Regions from separate parts of the Homo sapiens genome. Here region 2 is linked to region 1. Evidence: promoter capture Hi-C in 16 types of primary human blood cells and fetal thymus (Javierre and others, 2016). All regions are on one chromosome and are shown on one strand. The core of a region is centred on a gene start or on the middle of the fragment in contact, and the rest is flanking DNA. Distances in the headings are between cores, read along the strand shown.

What was found. The method cuts DNA at HindIII sites, captures the fragments that hold promoters and counts their contacts. A CHiCAGO score of 5 or more calls a contact.
Region 2: a contact is called between the fragment with the promoter of NAA30 here and the fragment with the promoter of SEL1L in region 1, in 1 of 17 cell types (total CD8 T cells). The highest score is 5.6, in total CD8 T cells.

Annotation. Positions count from the first base shown.
Region 1 is chr14:81,529,355-81,536,229 of GRCh38, forward strand. It overlaps SEL1L (SEL1L adaptor subunit of SYVN1 ubiquitin ligase), which reads right to left and starts at 4,499. Exons shown (of 21, transcript NM_005065.6): 1 at 4,321-4,499. The coding sequence starts at 4,390. RefSeq lists an enhancer at 4,287-4,786 and a silencer at 4,503-4,622. The HindIII fragment of the contact is 11,079 bases long and covers 1,009-6,875 here.
Region 2 is chr14:57,386,094-57,392,968 of GRCh38, forward strand. NAA30 (N-alpha-acetyltransferase 30, NatC catalytic subunit) reads left to right here and starts at 4,493. Exons shown (of 5, transcript NM_001011713.3): 1 at 4,493-4,612; 2 at 4,864-5,635. The coding sequence starts at 4,865. RefSeq lists an enhancer at 4,477-5,472 and silencers at 4,601-4,740, 4,871-5,020. The HindIII fragment of the contact is 6,905 bases long and covers 2,043-6,875 here.

The sequences.
Region 1 (6,875 bases), core at 3,249-5,748:
AAAACAGATATTAAATGTTTAAACATATATGAAATACCCCCAAATACTGAATGAAACTTTAGATTAGCTGGAACTCTAAATCACTATCACTACATTGCTACATTTAGTACCTCACCACAACAGGTTACATAGGTAGCTAACAGGTGAATCATATGGACACATCTGTAAATACACTTAAAGACATGTACATTTCACACAGCACAAGCTGTTAGGCATTAGAGTAGCAAAACGTGTTTTCAAACTCCAAGAAACATGATTTGTAACATCAGAGTTATTTCATGTGAATTGCATCATGCTTCTCTTTCTCTCCCTCTCTCTTCGCAACCTGGACTATATGCTAATATTACTGGTGAATAAGATAATTCTCAGTTACTAAACTGGGAAAGCCTACTCCAGATGGTAGTCTCAAAGCATAAGCTATTTTCTTTTTCAAACTGATATAAACATTCACACAACACTTTTTAAAGAGTTGTTTATAACCTAGGAACTTCTGATAAGTAGTATTCAGGTAAGGATTAAAGAGACTGAAGTTATGCATAAATAAAAAGCAAACAGTAATGTTTTCATCAGAACACAGATATCAAGCAACAAGAAAAAAATGCAAAAGGATTAAGTTATGCGCTTCTCGCTCATCAGCATCACATCCAAATGGTTCATATTATTTTATTAACTGTACACCTTCCTTTGAAAAGGACCAGTTTTTATTTTTATTGTATTAGCTAACAAAACTGCAAAGTACCAGAGATATGCTTTCAGGGAAAAGTGATCACTACAAAATCATTTTTCCATTCATCACGTAAATTAAACAGACTGATAACCTTTAAACACAGAAAGTCTAAATAGTTTGGTGAAAACAGACCAGATATCCTGTTCTCTGCTTTAGCTCTAAATTGGTACAGATCCTAAGATACTCTCGATTCTAAATTTCTTCAATTCTGAGACCTGGAGAGCTAGGTCTGGAACCTGGCTTCATCACATGTTAATTCTGACACATGGTTCAGTAACAAAAGCTTGCTCAGCCTCTGTTTCTCAATCTGTCAAAAGGGGTAACACCTCTGTCCCGCTGACTCACAATATTTTAAGGAACGACCAAAACAGTGAAATTAAACATCCTCTGCTGTCTGAAAACTACTCTCTGAATTTATAATTATTACCTGAAATACCTGGCAGTGGACCTAACTAAAATGACTAACACTGCTTGGCACAAAGAAAAAAAAAGGTTAAGCCATTTGCCTCTTCTGCCAAAAATAAGAAAGCATGCATTTGTGAGAAAAATTATAACCTTTTCACTATTATCCTGAGAAAATGAAGAAATATCTTTTTAGTGTCCTCCTTTAAATTTATTAATAGAAAAGAGAAAATGTTTCTAATATTAGCCATGTGTCAATGACGAGGATATGTTCTGAAAAGTGTATCACTGGGCGATTTCCTTTTTGTATACTTAAACCTAAATGGGATAGCCTTCTACATACCTGGGCTACATAGTGTAGCCTGTTGTTCCTAAGCTACAAATCTGTACAGCATGTGACTATACAGACTACTGTAGGCAACTGTAACATAACAGTAAGTATTTGTGTACATAAACATAGCTAAACATAGAAAAGCTACAGTGAAAATATGGTGTAAAAGATTACAAAACATATACCTGTCTAGGGCACTTACCATAAATGGAACTTGCAGGATTAAGAGTTGCTGTGGGTGAGTGAGTGAGTGAATGTGAAGCCTAGGATGTTACTATACACTATTGTAAACACTGTACACTTAAACTACACTAAATTTATTTTTTAAAAAGTGTGCTACCATGTTCCAATGGCTACAATGTCACTAGGTGACAGGAATTTTTCAGCTCCATTATATTCTTACAGGGCCACCATCTTACATGGGGTTCATTGTTGACCAAAATGTCATTATGTAGCATGTGACTATATCATATTTTTACATGCTTCTAAAACATGATACTAGCTAACAGCTATCAACAGCAATAGAATCAAGATTCTCTTTGTTGGCTGACCATACTCCACCTGGAGAGATGCGACCTGCCCTGGGTAACCACTAATGTTCAAACACAAAATTATAACCAAAAACTTGATTTTAATACTGGAGTAAAACTTTAAACTTTGAGGCCGAAACCCTGTGAATGAAAATCACAATTGAAAATCCATAGCTTAATTTACACAACTTTATTTAACACAGGGTTGTTTTTTTTTCTTTTTTTTTGAGACAGGGTCTCGCTCTATTGTCCAGGCTGGAGTGCAGTGGCATAATCACAGCTCAGTGCAGCCTCAACCTCCTGGGGCTCACTCCATCCTGCCACCTCAGCCTCCCGAGTAGCTGGAACTACACGTGTGCACCATCACACCTGGAGTTACGTAGAGATGGGGTTTCGCCATGTTGCCCAGGTTGGTCTTGAACTCCTGGGCTCAAGTGATCCTTCCACTTCAGCCTCCCAAAGTGCTGGGATTACAGGTATGAGCTGGGCCCGCACAGGTGTTTTATGATATATGAACTTCATGTGAGCACAGCACTGCCTTTATTACCTTTTAGCATGCACATCTACATTGTTTTAGTTCTGGCTAAGGCTTCTGCCTTTACCATTGAAATGTTGTGGCACAGCTTTAACTATGATGGAAATCAGAGCAGACATTTCTTGAATACAGTCCTCTACCTACATCAATACAACCCAAGGATTTAATATATCAGTGTTAAGTCTTTTATTACAACATCCTGAAAGCCCCAACTGTTGATCTTCAAATATCTTTTCCACTGGCATGGAGCTCTAAGTATATAAAATGCAGTCAAAGACAGACAGCACAATTCCTATGCTTTAATTTTCTTTAAACTCTGCCAATTAAATTCAGAGGGATACACACCGTGCTCTTTCATTACTGTAGTTCTCTTTAGTGTGAAGAATCCCTCATGGAGATTGTTAATCTATGTATACCTGAGCTGTTCCAGACCTAAAACCCAATGTTTAACAAACCCATAAGAGGAATTCTGATGCAGGAGGTCCATGGTCCAGCAGGTACTCTACTCATTAAGCTCAACAGCTTCATTTCATGCTTTTTGATCAAATATTAAATAACTGCTAAAAGTGCTTCGAGAGTTAAGTATAGTCTAAAGATCTGGTCATTAACTCAAACCATCACTACTACTGGAGGGAGGGGAGTGGACCTGAAAGAATGATGTTGGCAGTAAAGTAATTAGCATAGGGTTGGTGCTTTTGAAATGGTATCTCAAACCACATCATGGATAGAATTTAGGTTTAAGCCTCTTATTTTAGAAGCAGAATGACGTTATGGCATTGATTTACAACTAGGACAGGTAATTTGGGGATTCAGATAACCATCTGGGAAATTTTCTGTTAAAAAAAAGCTGACATTTATTAAAAAAAGAAAAAGCTGACATTTATACTCCGTGTTGTCCCCCCAAAACGTCAAGCCACAGAACACCTGTCCTGTTAACTGAAACTGATTAAAATTCCAAAGTTTTACTGTACTAATTTTTATTTATCAACACTTAGAAACACGAAGTTTTCATGAACACTCTCAAAATGGAAATTTTCAAATGTAGGCAGATTAAAACATTAAAAAAGGGGGAAAAAAGCAGAACCAGAATAAACATTAGCTAACTGGAAAATCAATTCAAAAGCACACAAATTTCTGTATCTATATAAAACGCATCTTATAAGAACCAAGATTTTCCCAAACATCATAAAATGACTGTCAACAAACATGGGGCAACTCAGAAACACTGTGACAGGTCACCGCTTTCTCAGGAAGGTTTCAAAAAAGTAAAAAGTGGCTACGATGAGATCAAAAGTCTTCGTTTTTAAACAGACAGACCAGGGACCATCTCAGGTGTTAAGCAAACTACTGTCAACATCCTGGTCTGGATGGATCCTCCTCTGCCCCAAAGTGACAGCTCCAGGTTTGTCAATTATTTAACTTACAATTCCCAAGCCCAGAGTTCTAGACCAGACCCTTCCTCTACCCCAGGGTCGAGGAAGCTCCACTCGGGCTCCTGTATCAGGATTCATTCCTTTGGAGTCAATTCCGCGTTCGTGAGAAGAGTCGCGCAAAGTTTGTTACGTGGGAGAGAGGTGTGGGCAGGGTGACCGCCCCTTCTTTTTCCACCCCACTCCACCTTCCTAAATAGCCCCTTTGGCGCAGGCCAAGCAAAGCCAAAGAGCGAGTGACAGCCCAGTGCGAGATGTGCCCAGGGAGAACGGGGTCCCGAGCCTGGAGTCCCCACGGCCCCGCCGGCTGTAGAGGCTGGGGGGCGGAGGCTCTGGGCCTTCAGCCCGAGGGGGCGGATACTGACCCGAGGACGCCGAGGCCAAGCTCAGCAGCACCGCACACAGCAGCAGCGTCAGCCCTATCCGGACCCGCATCCTCCTCTCGGGGCCGGTGCCAACCCCTAGAGCTGTCGCCTTCGCCTCTGCCACCACGGACTCAGCCACCACCGCCGCCTCGCCGCTGCTCTTCCTGCTCTAGTCTCCTTCCTCCGCCCCTTCCCAGGCTTCCCTGACCCAGCGCGCAGCCAATCCCCGCCCGCCGTCGCGGGCTTCTGGTCCAATCACCATGGTCTCCCCGCCCACCCCCATTGCTCCGCCCCGGGGGTCATTCATTGGCCAATCATTGTACGAAGCTCCCACACCAGCTTTCTCGGTTGGACCACGACTCACGGACATGGCCCCAGCTAATTGGTAGCCCCTGGGTTCAACCGGAATCAGCGCGTGAGTCCAAGACTGGGAGAAAGAGGCTCATCCGAGACTACAATTCCCAGAATGCGCTTCATGTGATTAACTCGGGGGGTGCTCTTGGGAAACGTAGTCCATCGTAGGGCAAGATTTACAAGTGCGGGTGACTGTTGAAGTTAGAATTTAACTAACACCTGGGCTAAATATTAACTCAAGGCTATGGATTCACAAGCCTTTTTAAATTGACCCAAAATAAATATTAAGGAATAATTTTAAGAACTTGTAATGTGTTTAGCATCTTTTCCTGTTTTATTTAAAAAATTTAAATTGGGCATAGTGATAAGAGCACTGAGAAAAATGCCACAGCTAGTTGAATTTGAGGTGTTTTTTAAAACTTAGATAAAACAGTACCGTGAAGTACGGAAACCAGGGTGCAACTCAGTACCTGTCCTCCTTTCTCCGACAAAACAAAAGGAAATAAATCCGCTCGGCACAGATTATCTCAATACAGTATTTATTTTCACTAGGTTCACCAGACAATAATCATAAAGAAAATGTGCCAACAGCTTTGAAAAATTATTTTAAACACTTGTCCTCATCCTTCTCCTCTTGTGAGTTGCATTGTTCTCTTCTTTCCTAACTAAAGTCAGGAGACCAGGTTCACGTGTGTGGAGGTAGAGGTGATAGTGATTGCATCGCAGGCACGGAAATACTCTATGTAATAAGCACGAAATCCAGGCATGTTCCAACTGAGTAGCAGAGCAGTGACTTGGTGTGCCTGCCCTTTCTTTTCTCAAACCGTGTCATTCTGCTTTCCCTGTCATCCACCCACAGTCAGCTCTAAGGCCTAGAACCTAGTCCAGCCAAGTGAAGGACTTTGGAAAAGTCTCTGCTGGCCATGTGTCTTAACACTTCTGGGCATTTGTCTTCCTTCCTTTTTTTTTTTGTTTTTTGTTTTTTGTTTTTTGAGATACAGCCTTTTATTTTCAGGAAGATGGTAAAAAACCAACCACTGTTTCTCATTCACATCGGAGGAGATGAAGGAAAGAATTATCTCCTCCAAAAACTTGTCTTTTCAGCTACATCACCATTTCTGTCACTAACAATGTTCCCTCTGAGTTCCTCTGATTATAAATCATAGAGTAAAATCTGGTATATTTTCCTTTCTTTTTCATCTTATTGATAATCAAGTTCTATCAGTTTAAACTATGTAACTTTTAAATTGTTTTATTTTATTATGTACCTCTGTTCTCTTCCTCACTGAAAACTCCCCTAATGGCTTTCATTTTCTCTCACCTGGATGATGCACCTGAGTTCCAGCCATACTCACTGACATCATTCTCCCTTTAACCTGAATCACATATCATGGCCATATTAATTTTCCTTAAACACTGCTTTCATATGCCTATTGAAAATTTTCAATGGCTACACTTTTCACAGAATAAAAAAAATTAGAACTTATTCTACTCACAAAATAGGAACTGTGCTGACAGTTCTACTCTGTTGGGGAAGTACCAGGGAAGAAACTTCTGCCTTCTACAGAAGAGCCAGTGATTATCTGTTTGATTAAAACTGGGGAAAGTTTGCTGCTTAGTTAAGCCCCAACTTCTTTTTTCAGTTTTGTCTTTACTGAGTACGTCTTATATTTAAGGGTTGTTCTGGGTGCTGCTGCATGGACCAAATAGCCACTTCCGTTTTACTTTCCAGATTTCACATTAACACAATCATGTCTTCCTAAGGGTTCCTCTACCCTTTCTCCAACTGCCCTTGCTTCTTTCACTTAGCCATAACTCTGGCATCCTTCCCAATTTCATTCACATTTCGTCTTGGATCACACTTCTCCAACCAGATCTGTCCTCATTAATCTTCATTTCTCTAAGAATCTATTGAACACTCACAATCTTGCCTTATAAACAGATTGTAAACATGCTGAGGCTGGAGATGATCATGTGATTCTGTGTATAGGTATATAGTGCTGGACTTGCCACCACTAGCACTAGTTAATTATTTATTGGTTGATAGATATGTCTTGCCTGTCTGTTGTGAGATTCAAAATGGAGACACAGGATAAAAGCACTTTCTACATTGTAGGATGTTTTACATATAGTATTGTTTCTTATTGATTGCTTGGTTGAGGCGAAGGAGGGAAATTAGTTTTATACCCTTAATGCGAAAA
Region 2 (6,875 bases), core at 3,243-5,742, about 24 Mb before region 1:
AGGGAAGAGTTTCTGGAAGGACACAGCAGGATGAAATGCCACGATGGAATAAAGTGATGTGAGAACTGGAAGAGTCTAGTTAGGACATAACAGGTGATTTTTTGCCAGAGTGTTGTTTGAAGAAGGGCTGAGATTGAAGCCAACCCACCAATGAAGAGTGAACCTGCACCTGAGTAGAGACAGTGGATACCTATTGCAGATTAGGAGTTTGTGGTGAAAAGGAGGCAGGAAAAGGATGGTAGTGGGAGAAATCTCTAAATGGGGCATGTTTATAAACTTTGAGGCAGTAGCTAGCAAAGGTAACATGGAAAATTCAGGAGAGAGAAACAATGATGGGACAGGTTCTAAAGGAGCCTGAAAGAGAAAGCATCAAGCCCACAGGTAGAGGGAGGTATTAGTCATGAAGAATTGATCCATCTTCCACCCTCTTAAGACTGGGAGGGAGGAGGTAAGGGTAAGTTCAGATACAGATGAACTTATAGGTATGGCAGTAGAAGGCACACCTATGAAATAGTTCACTTTTCTTAGTGAAATGGAGGCAGGGTTATCTGCTGAGAGTGTGAAGCAAGTAGTGGTTGAGGACAGTTGCTGTTGGATGAAGCTGGCCTTGGAGACAGGTTAAAACAATTCTAGACAGCTGAAGGCATAGCTAAATTAGAGACCAAAAATTTTTTGGCTCTAATATGTAGGAATATATGATTCTCTCCAACATGTCTCACCAGCCCAGGTGTATCTGTGAGAATCACCCTGACCATGTCTTCAGGCAGGTCATGAAGAGTTAGTGTGAGGTTGAAAATAATGGAAATGGGGACCATTTGACCACAACCCTCTCTGGTTCTTCATAGTCCTCTGAGGCCTCAGTTCTACAAACAAAATTGATGCCTACCTACAATTGGTACTGCCATCCACTACTGGCAAGGGGAAAGAAGTTTAAAGAACAGACTGTCATTCCCCAAATTCGAAGGGAAGAATCAAATTGTTAGTCTTTTACCTGGGCATCTCAGAGTGTTCTAAGATTACAGGTAATACAACAATATACTAATATTCATCCTTTGGTTAAGTTCTTCAGCTCTCAAATTTGATGTATGTTCTTTCTTTCATTCAAGATGAAACAAAGTTAAGGACATTCATTTTCAGGGCTTTATGTATAATAGATAGGATTAGTGGGATTAAGAACCACATGACATGTAAAATAAAACTACACAAATATTTAAATTATTTAGTATGTGTGCCTATGGCACATAACAATGTCATCCTGCTGTGTCAAGGGAACTTAAAGCATCTTTCCATTATTCATTCCCACAGTTACCTTTCAGGTAGGTACACAGCTAGGTTTTCTCTCTAAACCTAGCCAATAAGAGAAAAATGCCTCACTGTTAGAAAGAATTAAATAGAAATTTTTCTCCTTCCAAGCTGATTTCAATAAATTGCTTCAGGATGTTGTTTTAAAATTGCTATTGGTTATTTTAATTGATTTAATGAGAAGCTTTTTTTTCTTCTAAAAAATTAAGGCATGTTCTCTTCTTCCTCAAAAGAGAACAACAATAGTAAAAAAAAAAAAAAAAGAAAAAAAAAGAAAAGAAAAAATGGCTGTTGCTTCATAGGATATTACAAAACAATGAAAATATCAACTAACCACACAGAAGAGTATCACTGCTACACTCACCTTGCTCTGAGCCCATTCTTTCCTATGAAGTATTGCTCATGGAGGTAGTTGTTTTTTCAGAGTCTCATAATAGTAAATATGTCTAAAGCATTAGAGTGAACTAATCCTATTTCTATGCCTAAAATAGTGCTATCATCCTATCAAGTAAACATGAATCAAATAGAAAAGATTTCATAAGTTATAAAGGCAATTTTTTTTAGAGATGTCATCTGATTTAGAAGGCCAACATTGTAATTTTAATACTGGGATATAAAGAAAAATCACTGGGGCTGAGACATTAGAATTACCCCACTAGTTATTGAGGAGGTCAGAATTTACTTTGTCATTATAAGCATTCTAGGTTACTGAATGAGAGACTGGTGTACTTCAGTCAAAAAGCTTAACAATTTCCCTTTTATGTGTTTGATATGTGAATACAAAGTGACTAACATTTACTCCCTGGCCTCAAGAAGGTCCTTACAACTCTTGACTTTCTGAAAACCACTTTGAGACAACATCTGGTCAGCTCCTCAGTGTGACAGAGCTCAATGCCAAGTTGCAACACAGAAAGAACAGGAAGGCCTGCTGCCATTCATTCACTACAGTGAAGGTACATGCTTTTTAGGAAGGGCTTACATTTAAAAGTAAATTACTGAGAGGTATTTTTCTAAGTAAAATTCACCCTTAAACATCTCTTATGGAATTATCTGGTGCCTCTTGGGCCAGTTTTTCCACCATGATTTGAACAGATCATTGTTTCATTGGCTGACTACCCAGGTTACACTTAGAAACTTTGAAAAACATGTATCTTTAAACAATGTATGCACATTTGGAAACATGGTTTTGTTTTGTGCTTTTTAAAAGACAGAAAAGGGATCACGCTGTACTTATACATCTCATTTATATCCCCCACACATCAAGGTGTTTAGGAGGTTTTCAATGTATCTGTAGCAAGTTATACATTCTGAAAATGGCCACAGCAATATTTCTGGTCCCATATGCTCTTTGAGAACCTTGCCTCTCTCCACCAAGAGTAGAGTCTATTTCCCCTCCTGTCAAAACTGGATATAATTTTGTGTCTGCCTAGATACAATGCAGCAGAACTGACACTACATAACTTGTTTTTTGTTTCTTTTTGATGAGAGGGAGTCTCCCTGTGTTGCCCAGGCTGGAGTGCAGTGGCGCAATCTCGGCTTACTGCAACCTCCGCCTCCCGGGTTCAAGTGATTCTCCTCAGCCTCCTGAGTAGCTGGGACTACAGGCATGAGCTACCACGCCCGGCTAATTTTTGTATTTTTCGGCAGAGATGAGGTTTCACTGTGTTGGCCAGGCTGGTCTCGAACTCCTGGCCTCAAGAGATCCTCCCGCCTGGGCCTCCCAAAATGCCAGGATTACAGGCGTGAGGCACCGCACCTGGCTAGAGACTACATGACTTCTAAGGCTAGGTTATAATGGGTAATATGCTTCTGATTGACTTTCTCGCACGATACTTGCCGTGGAACCCAGCCACCAGGCTGTGACAAAGCCCAAACCAATCAATGCTAAAAGACCACCGGGAGAGGTCTACATGGACTAGAACTGAGGCCTCCAGCCTTTATCCTGCATCAACCATCAGCGGTGAAAGTGAAGTTTTCAAATAATTCTACTCCTCAGCCTTAGAGTCTTCCAACTGAAGCTCTACGCATAATGGAGTAGAGAAAAGCCATCCCAGTTGTGCTCTGTCTGGATTTCAGAGGCACAGAATCTGCGAGCATAATAAATACTTTATACATAGAGTTTAGATTACGGCAAAAAGTTGCAAACGTGTTCCGTCATAGAATTATATATTGAAAACGTCCATCTGCGGCACACCAGACCAGCTCTATAAATCAGGTTTTTAACAAAACCGAATTTGTTCAGTGAGCGGGTGAGTTACACTACCTGTCTCAGCTCAGACCTGCCGGGAGTCAATTGTGGACTAGAGCAGAAGGCGCCCAGCCACAAGCTCAAGTTCTATCCCCTTTGCACTCGATAGGCAGATCCCCTGGGAGGATCAGGCCACCTGTTTACCAGTGCTTCCTAACCTATTTGTGTCACAAGTTTAGGAGTGTGCTTCTTAGCCCTGGTCACTCTCTTTCACCACCTCTCTCTAACCCTTCCCCAGGTGTGCTAGCAATTGCCCAACACCTGTCAGTCACTTTTGCCTCCAATTTTACTGGGTGCGAGGAGCAGAGTAAGGAGGGAGAGGAAGAGGGCTGACTCCCTTGCCTCAAAGTGGCAAGGGCCAGCTGAACTTAATTCACACTGCAAACCACCACGTTTCGACAGCCATCCCCATATTTTCACAGCTCAAATCTTCCTTTCTTTTTCGGTCGGCTTCTCTGATTTGCTCCATTTTTAATCGCTCCTCCCCCATCCTCCTTGCCCCTGGTCAGGGCAAACATTAAACGCTGTGCAGCTTTAAAAGGGCATTTTTAGGTGACTTGTAAACGGCTTGTTCCACAGGCCCCGAATTGGCGAGATTCGCTACAGCTCGGAGTGCGCGGTAGACTTTAAGCAGGGAGCGCCTGCCCGGTCCATCCCTCCCCGGCCCCGCGTGGCAAGCACCGCAGGTTGAGGCGCCCCCAAACCGAGGAAGAGGGTTTGGGAGCCTGTGACTCCAAAGCCCTCTGCAACTTCCCGGCCCCACAGCCCCACCCACTAGCACGCGGCCTTCCCCGCAGCCCGCAGGAGACACCTTTGTCCCCGCCCCTCCACAGGTCACCTCCCTCCACGCCCCTCTCTCTTGGCCCGGGCAGCCGGCAGGCAGGGAAGTGTCGTAAAGCCAGGCCCAGGAAACTTTACCCGGCCTAACAGCTGAGGCGCTTTACGGCGACGGCGGCTGAGTGAGAACCTTGGCGGCTGTGGAGGCTGCCGCGGCTGCGAAGGAGGCGGCGGCGGTGGCGGAGGAAGAGGAGTGGCGGCAGCGGCGGCGGGGACCCGTGCGGGGTGAGCCGTGAGGAGGGGCCGCGAGTGACAGGGCTGGCGGGTGGGCCCGGGCGGACGGGGACGGTGGCCGGCTGAGCAGCTGGGCGGCGCTGAAGAGCGGGGGGGTGGCGGGGAATTGGGGGGCAGCTCCGTGAGGGACGGTTTCTGCCTTTGTTCCCCCCACCTCGGCCGCCCCCCATCCGTCGCCCCCTGTTCTCCGCGCTCCTCGGCCGGGTTTCATGGCCTCCCCTCTCGGTCTGTGTCGCTTCTAGGATGGCGGAGGTACCGCCTGGGCCTAGCAGCCTCCTCCCACCACCAGCACCTCCGGCCCCGGCGGCGGTCGAGCCCCGCTGTCCCTTCCCGGCGGGGGCCGCCCTCGCCTGCTGCAGCGAGGACGAGGAGGACGACGAAGAGCACGAAGGCGGCGGCAGCAGGAGCCCGGCGGGCGGAGAGTCGGCGACGGTGGCGGCCAAGGGGCATCCGTGCCTCCGCTGCCCTCAGCCGCCGCAGGAGCAGCAGCAGCTCAACGGATTGATTAGCCCCGAACTGCGGCACCTCCGGGCGGCCGCCTCCCTCAAGAGCAAGGTCCTGAGCGTAGCAGAGGTGGCCGCGACCACAGCCACCCCTGACGGAGGCCCCAGAGCGACTGCAACAAAAGGAGCCGGGGTACACTCGGGCGAGAGGCCCCCTCACTCCCTCTCTAGTAATGCAAGAACTGCGGTCCCCAGCCCGGTGGAGGCAGCGGCGGCGAGCGATCCCGCGGCGGCCCGCAATGGACTGGCCGAGGGCACCGAGCAGGAGGAGGAGGAGGAAGACGAGCAGGTGCGGCTGCTGTCTTCGTCCCTGACCGCCGACTGCAGCTTAAGAAGCCCTTCGGGCAGGGAGGTTGAGCCTGGGGAGGATCGGACGATACGATATGTCCGATATGAATCCGAGCTACAAATGCCCGATATCATGAGACTGATCACCAAAGATCTGTCCGAACCCTACTCCATTTATACCTATAGATATTTTATCCACAACTGGCCACAGCTGTGCTTCTTGGTAAGTGGATAGAATAAAAAGAGGGTGAACCCAGCAGTGATCGAGACTGTGCGGGGCAGGGAGTGAGGGCCCAGAATGTGGCAGTGGATATCTCCTGCTGCGTATCATAGTACGTTATATGATGTCAAGTGCTGTACACATTCCTAGTTATTTAATGAAATTGTTTTGAAGGTAAGACTTCATGATTCGGGTTAACGTGATACTAGTGTAACTGCAGCAAGCCTGTATGGTGGCGTGTTTCACTGGGGTGGGGGTCTTGTGTCTTGTTTACATTAGATTATAATCGTGTTTAACCGTCTTTAATTACCCGCCCGCATCCTCAAACACTTTACAGTCATTTAATTTGAACATGGTTCTGTTCAGATACAGGCCTTATTAGTCTCTCGATTACAACCATAATCAGGGAAGAGTGTATGCATAAACATGTTGTGGTGAACATGGATGTCAGCAAACTTGGTGTGGTCATATTGGAGAATTAAATCTTACAAGCATTTTCGGTAATTATGGAGATGTTTCTCTTTACTTCAACTGGACAATTAACAGTTGTAGCCAGCCTGCTTTCTGGTACTCCATTCCAGAAAGCGCTACTAACACTTCTGGTGGCTGAAAGACTCCTGAAACTTGAACAAAATACCCTTTTGTGGAATGTAGAAAACTTGTGTGAAATTGTTACCGATCTGATTTTTTTTTTTTTAATTTAAGAAACTGGTTGTAGATGTGGCCAAACACTAGTAACACTGGCTTGTGTAGAGTATAATTGACAATAATATTACACGTAAGTGAAAGACTTTTGGACGGTTTTTAAAAATTAACATAGTATTGGCAGTACCAGTAATTTCTTCACAATAATATTGACCCATTTCAGTCTGTATGAACCCTTTAACTTAAACGTTGACTGCAGGTGTATGCTTTGTATCATGTGCTCACAAGCATATTGTTTCTGTTGAATTTTACTACAGAAAGATGACATCCTTTTAAGGAATATTTTTTAATATGTGAAGGGAAAAGCCACCATTACTTAATGTTTTAGCATTGGCTTAGTTTCACTTGGTAATTCCCTGCAAGATATTTTGACAATACTTATCTTTTTGATTCTCTAGCTTGGTGATAATTTGAAAATGTAACCTGGGTATTGTAGATAATGGTAGTTCTATTTTCTGTCTTAACTTGCTTAAACTTCAATTCAGTACATTTGTTAAAACTGTGGGTACTACTTTATATTCTTGAAAACTGCTCTTTC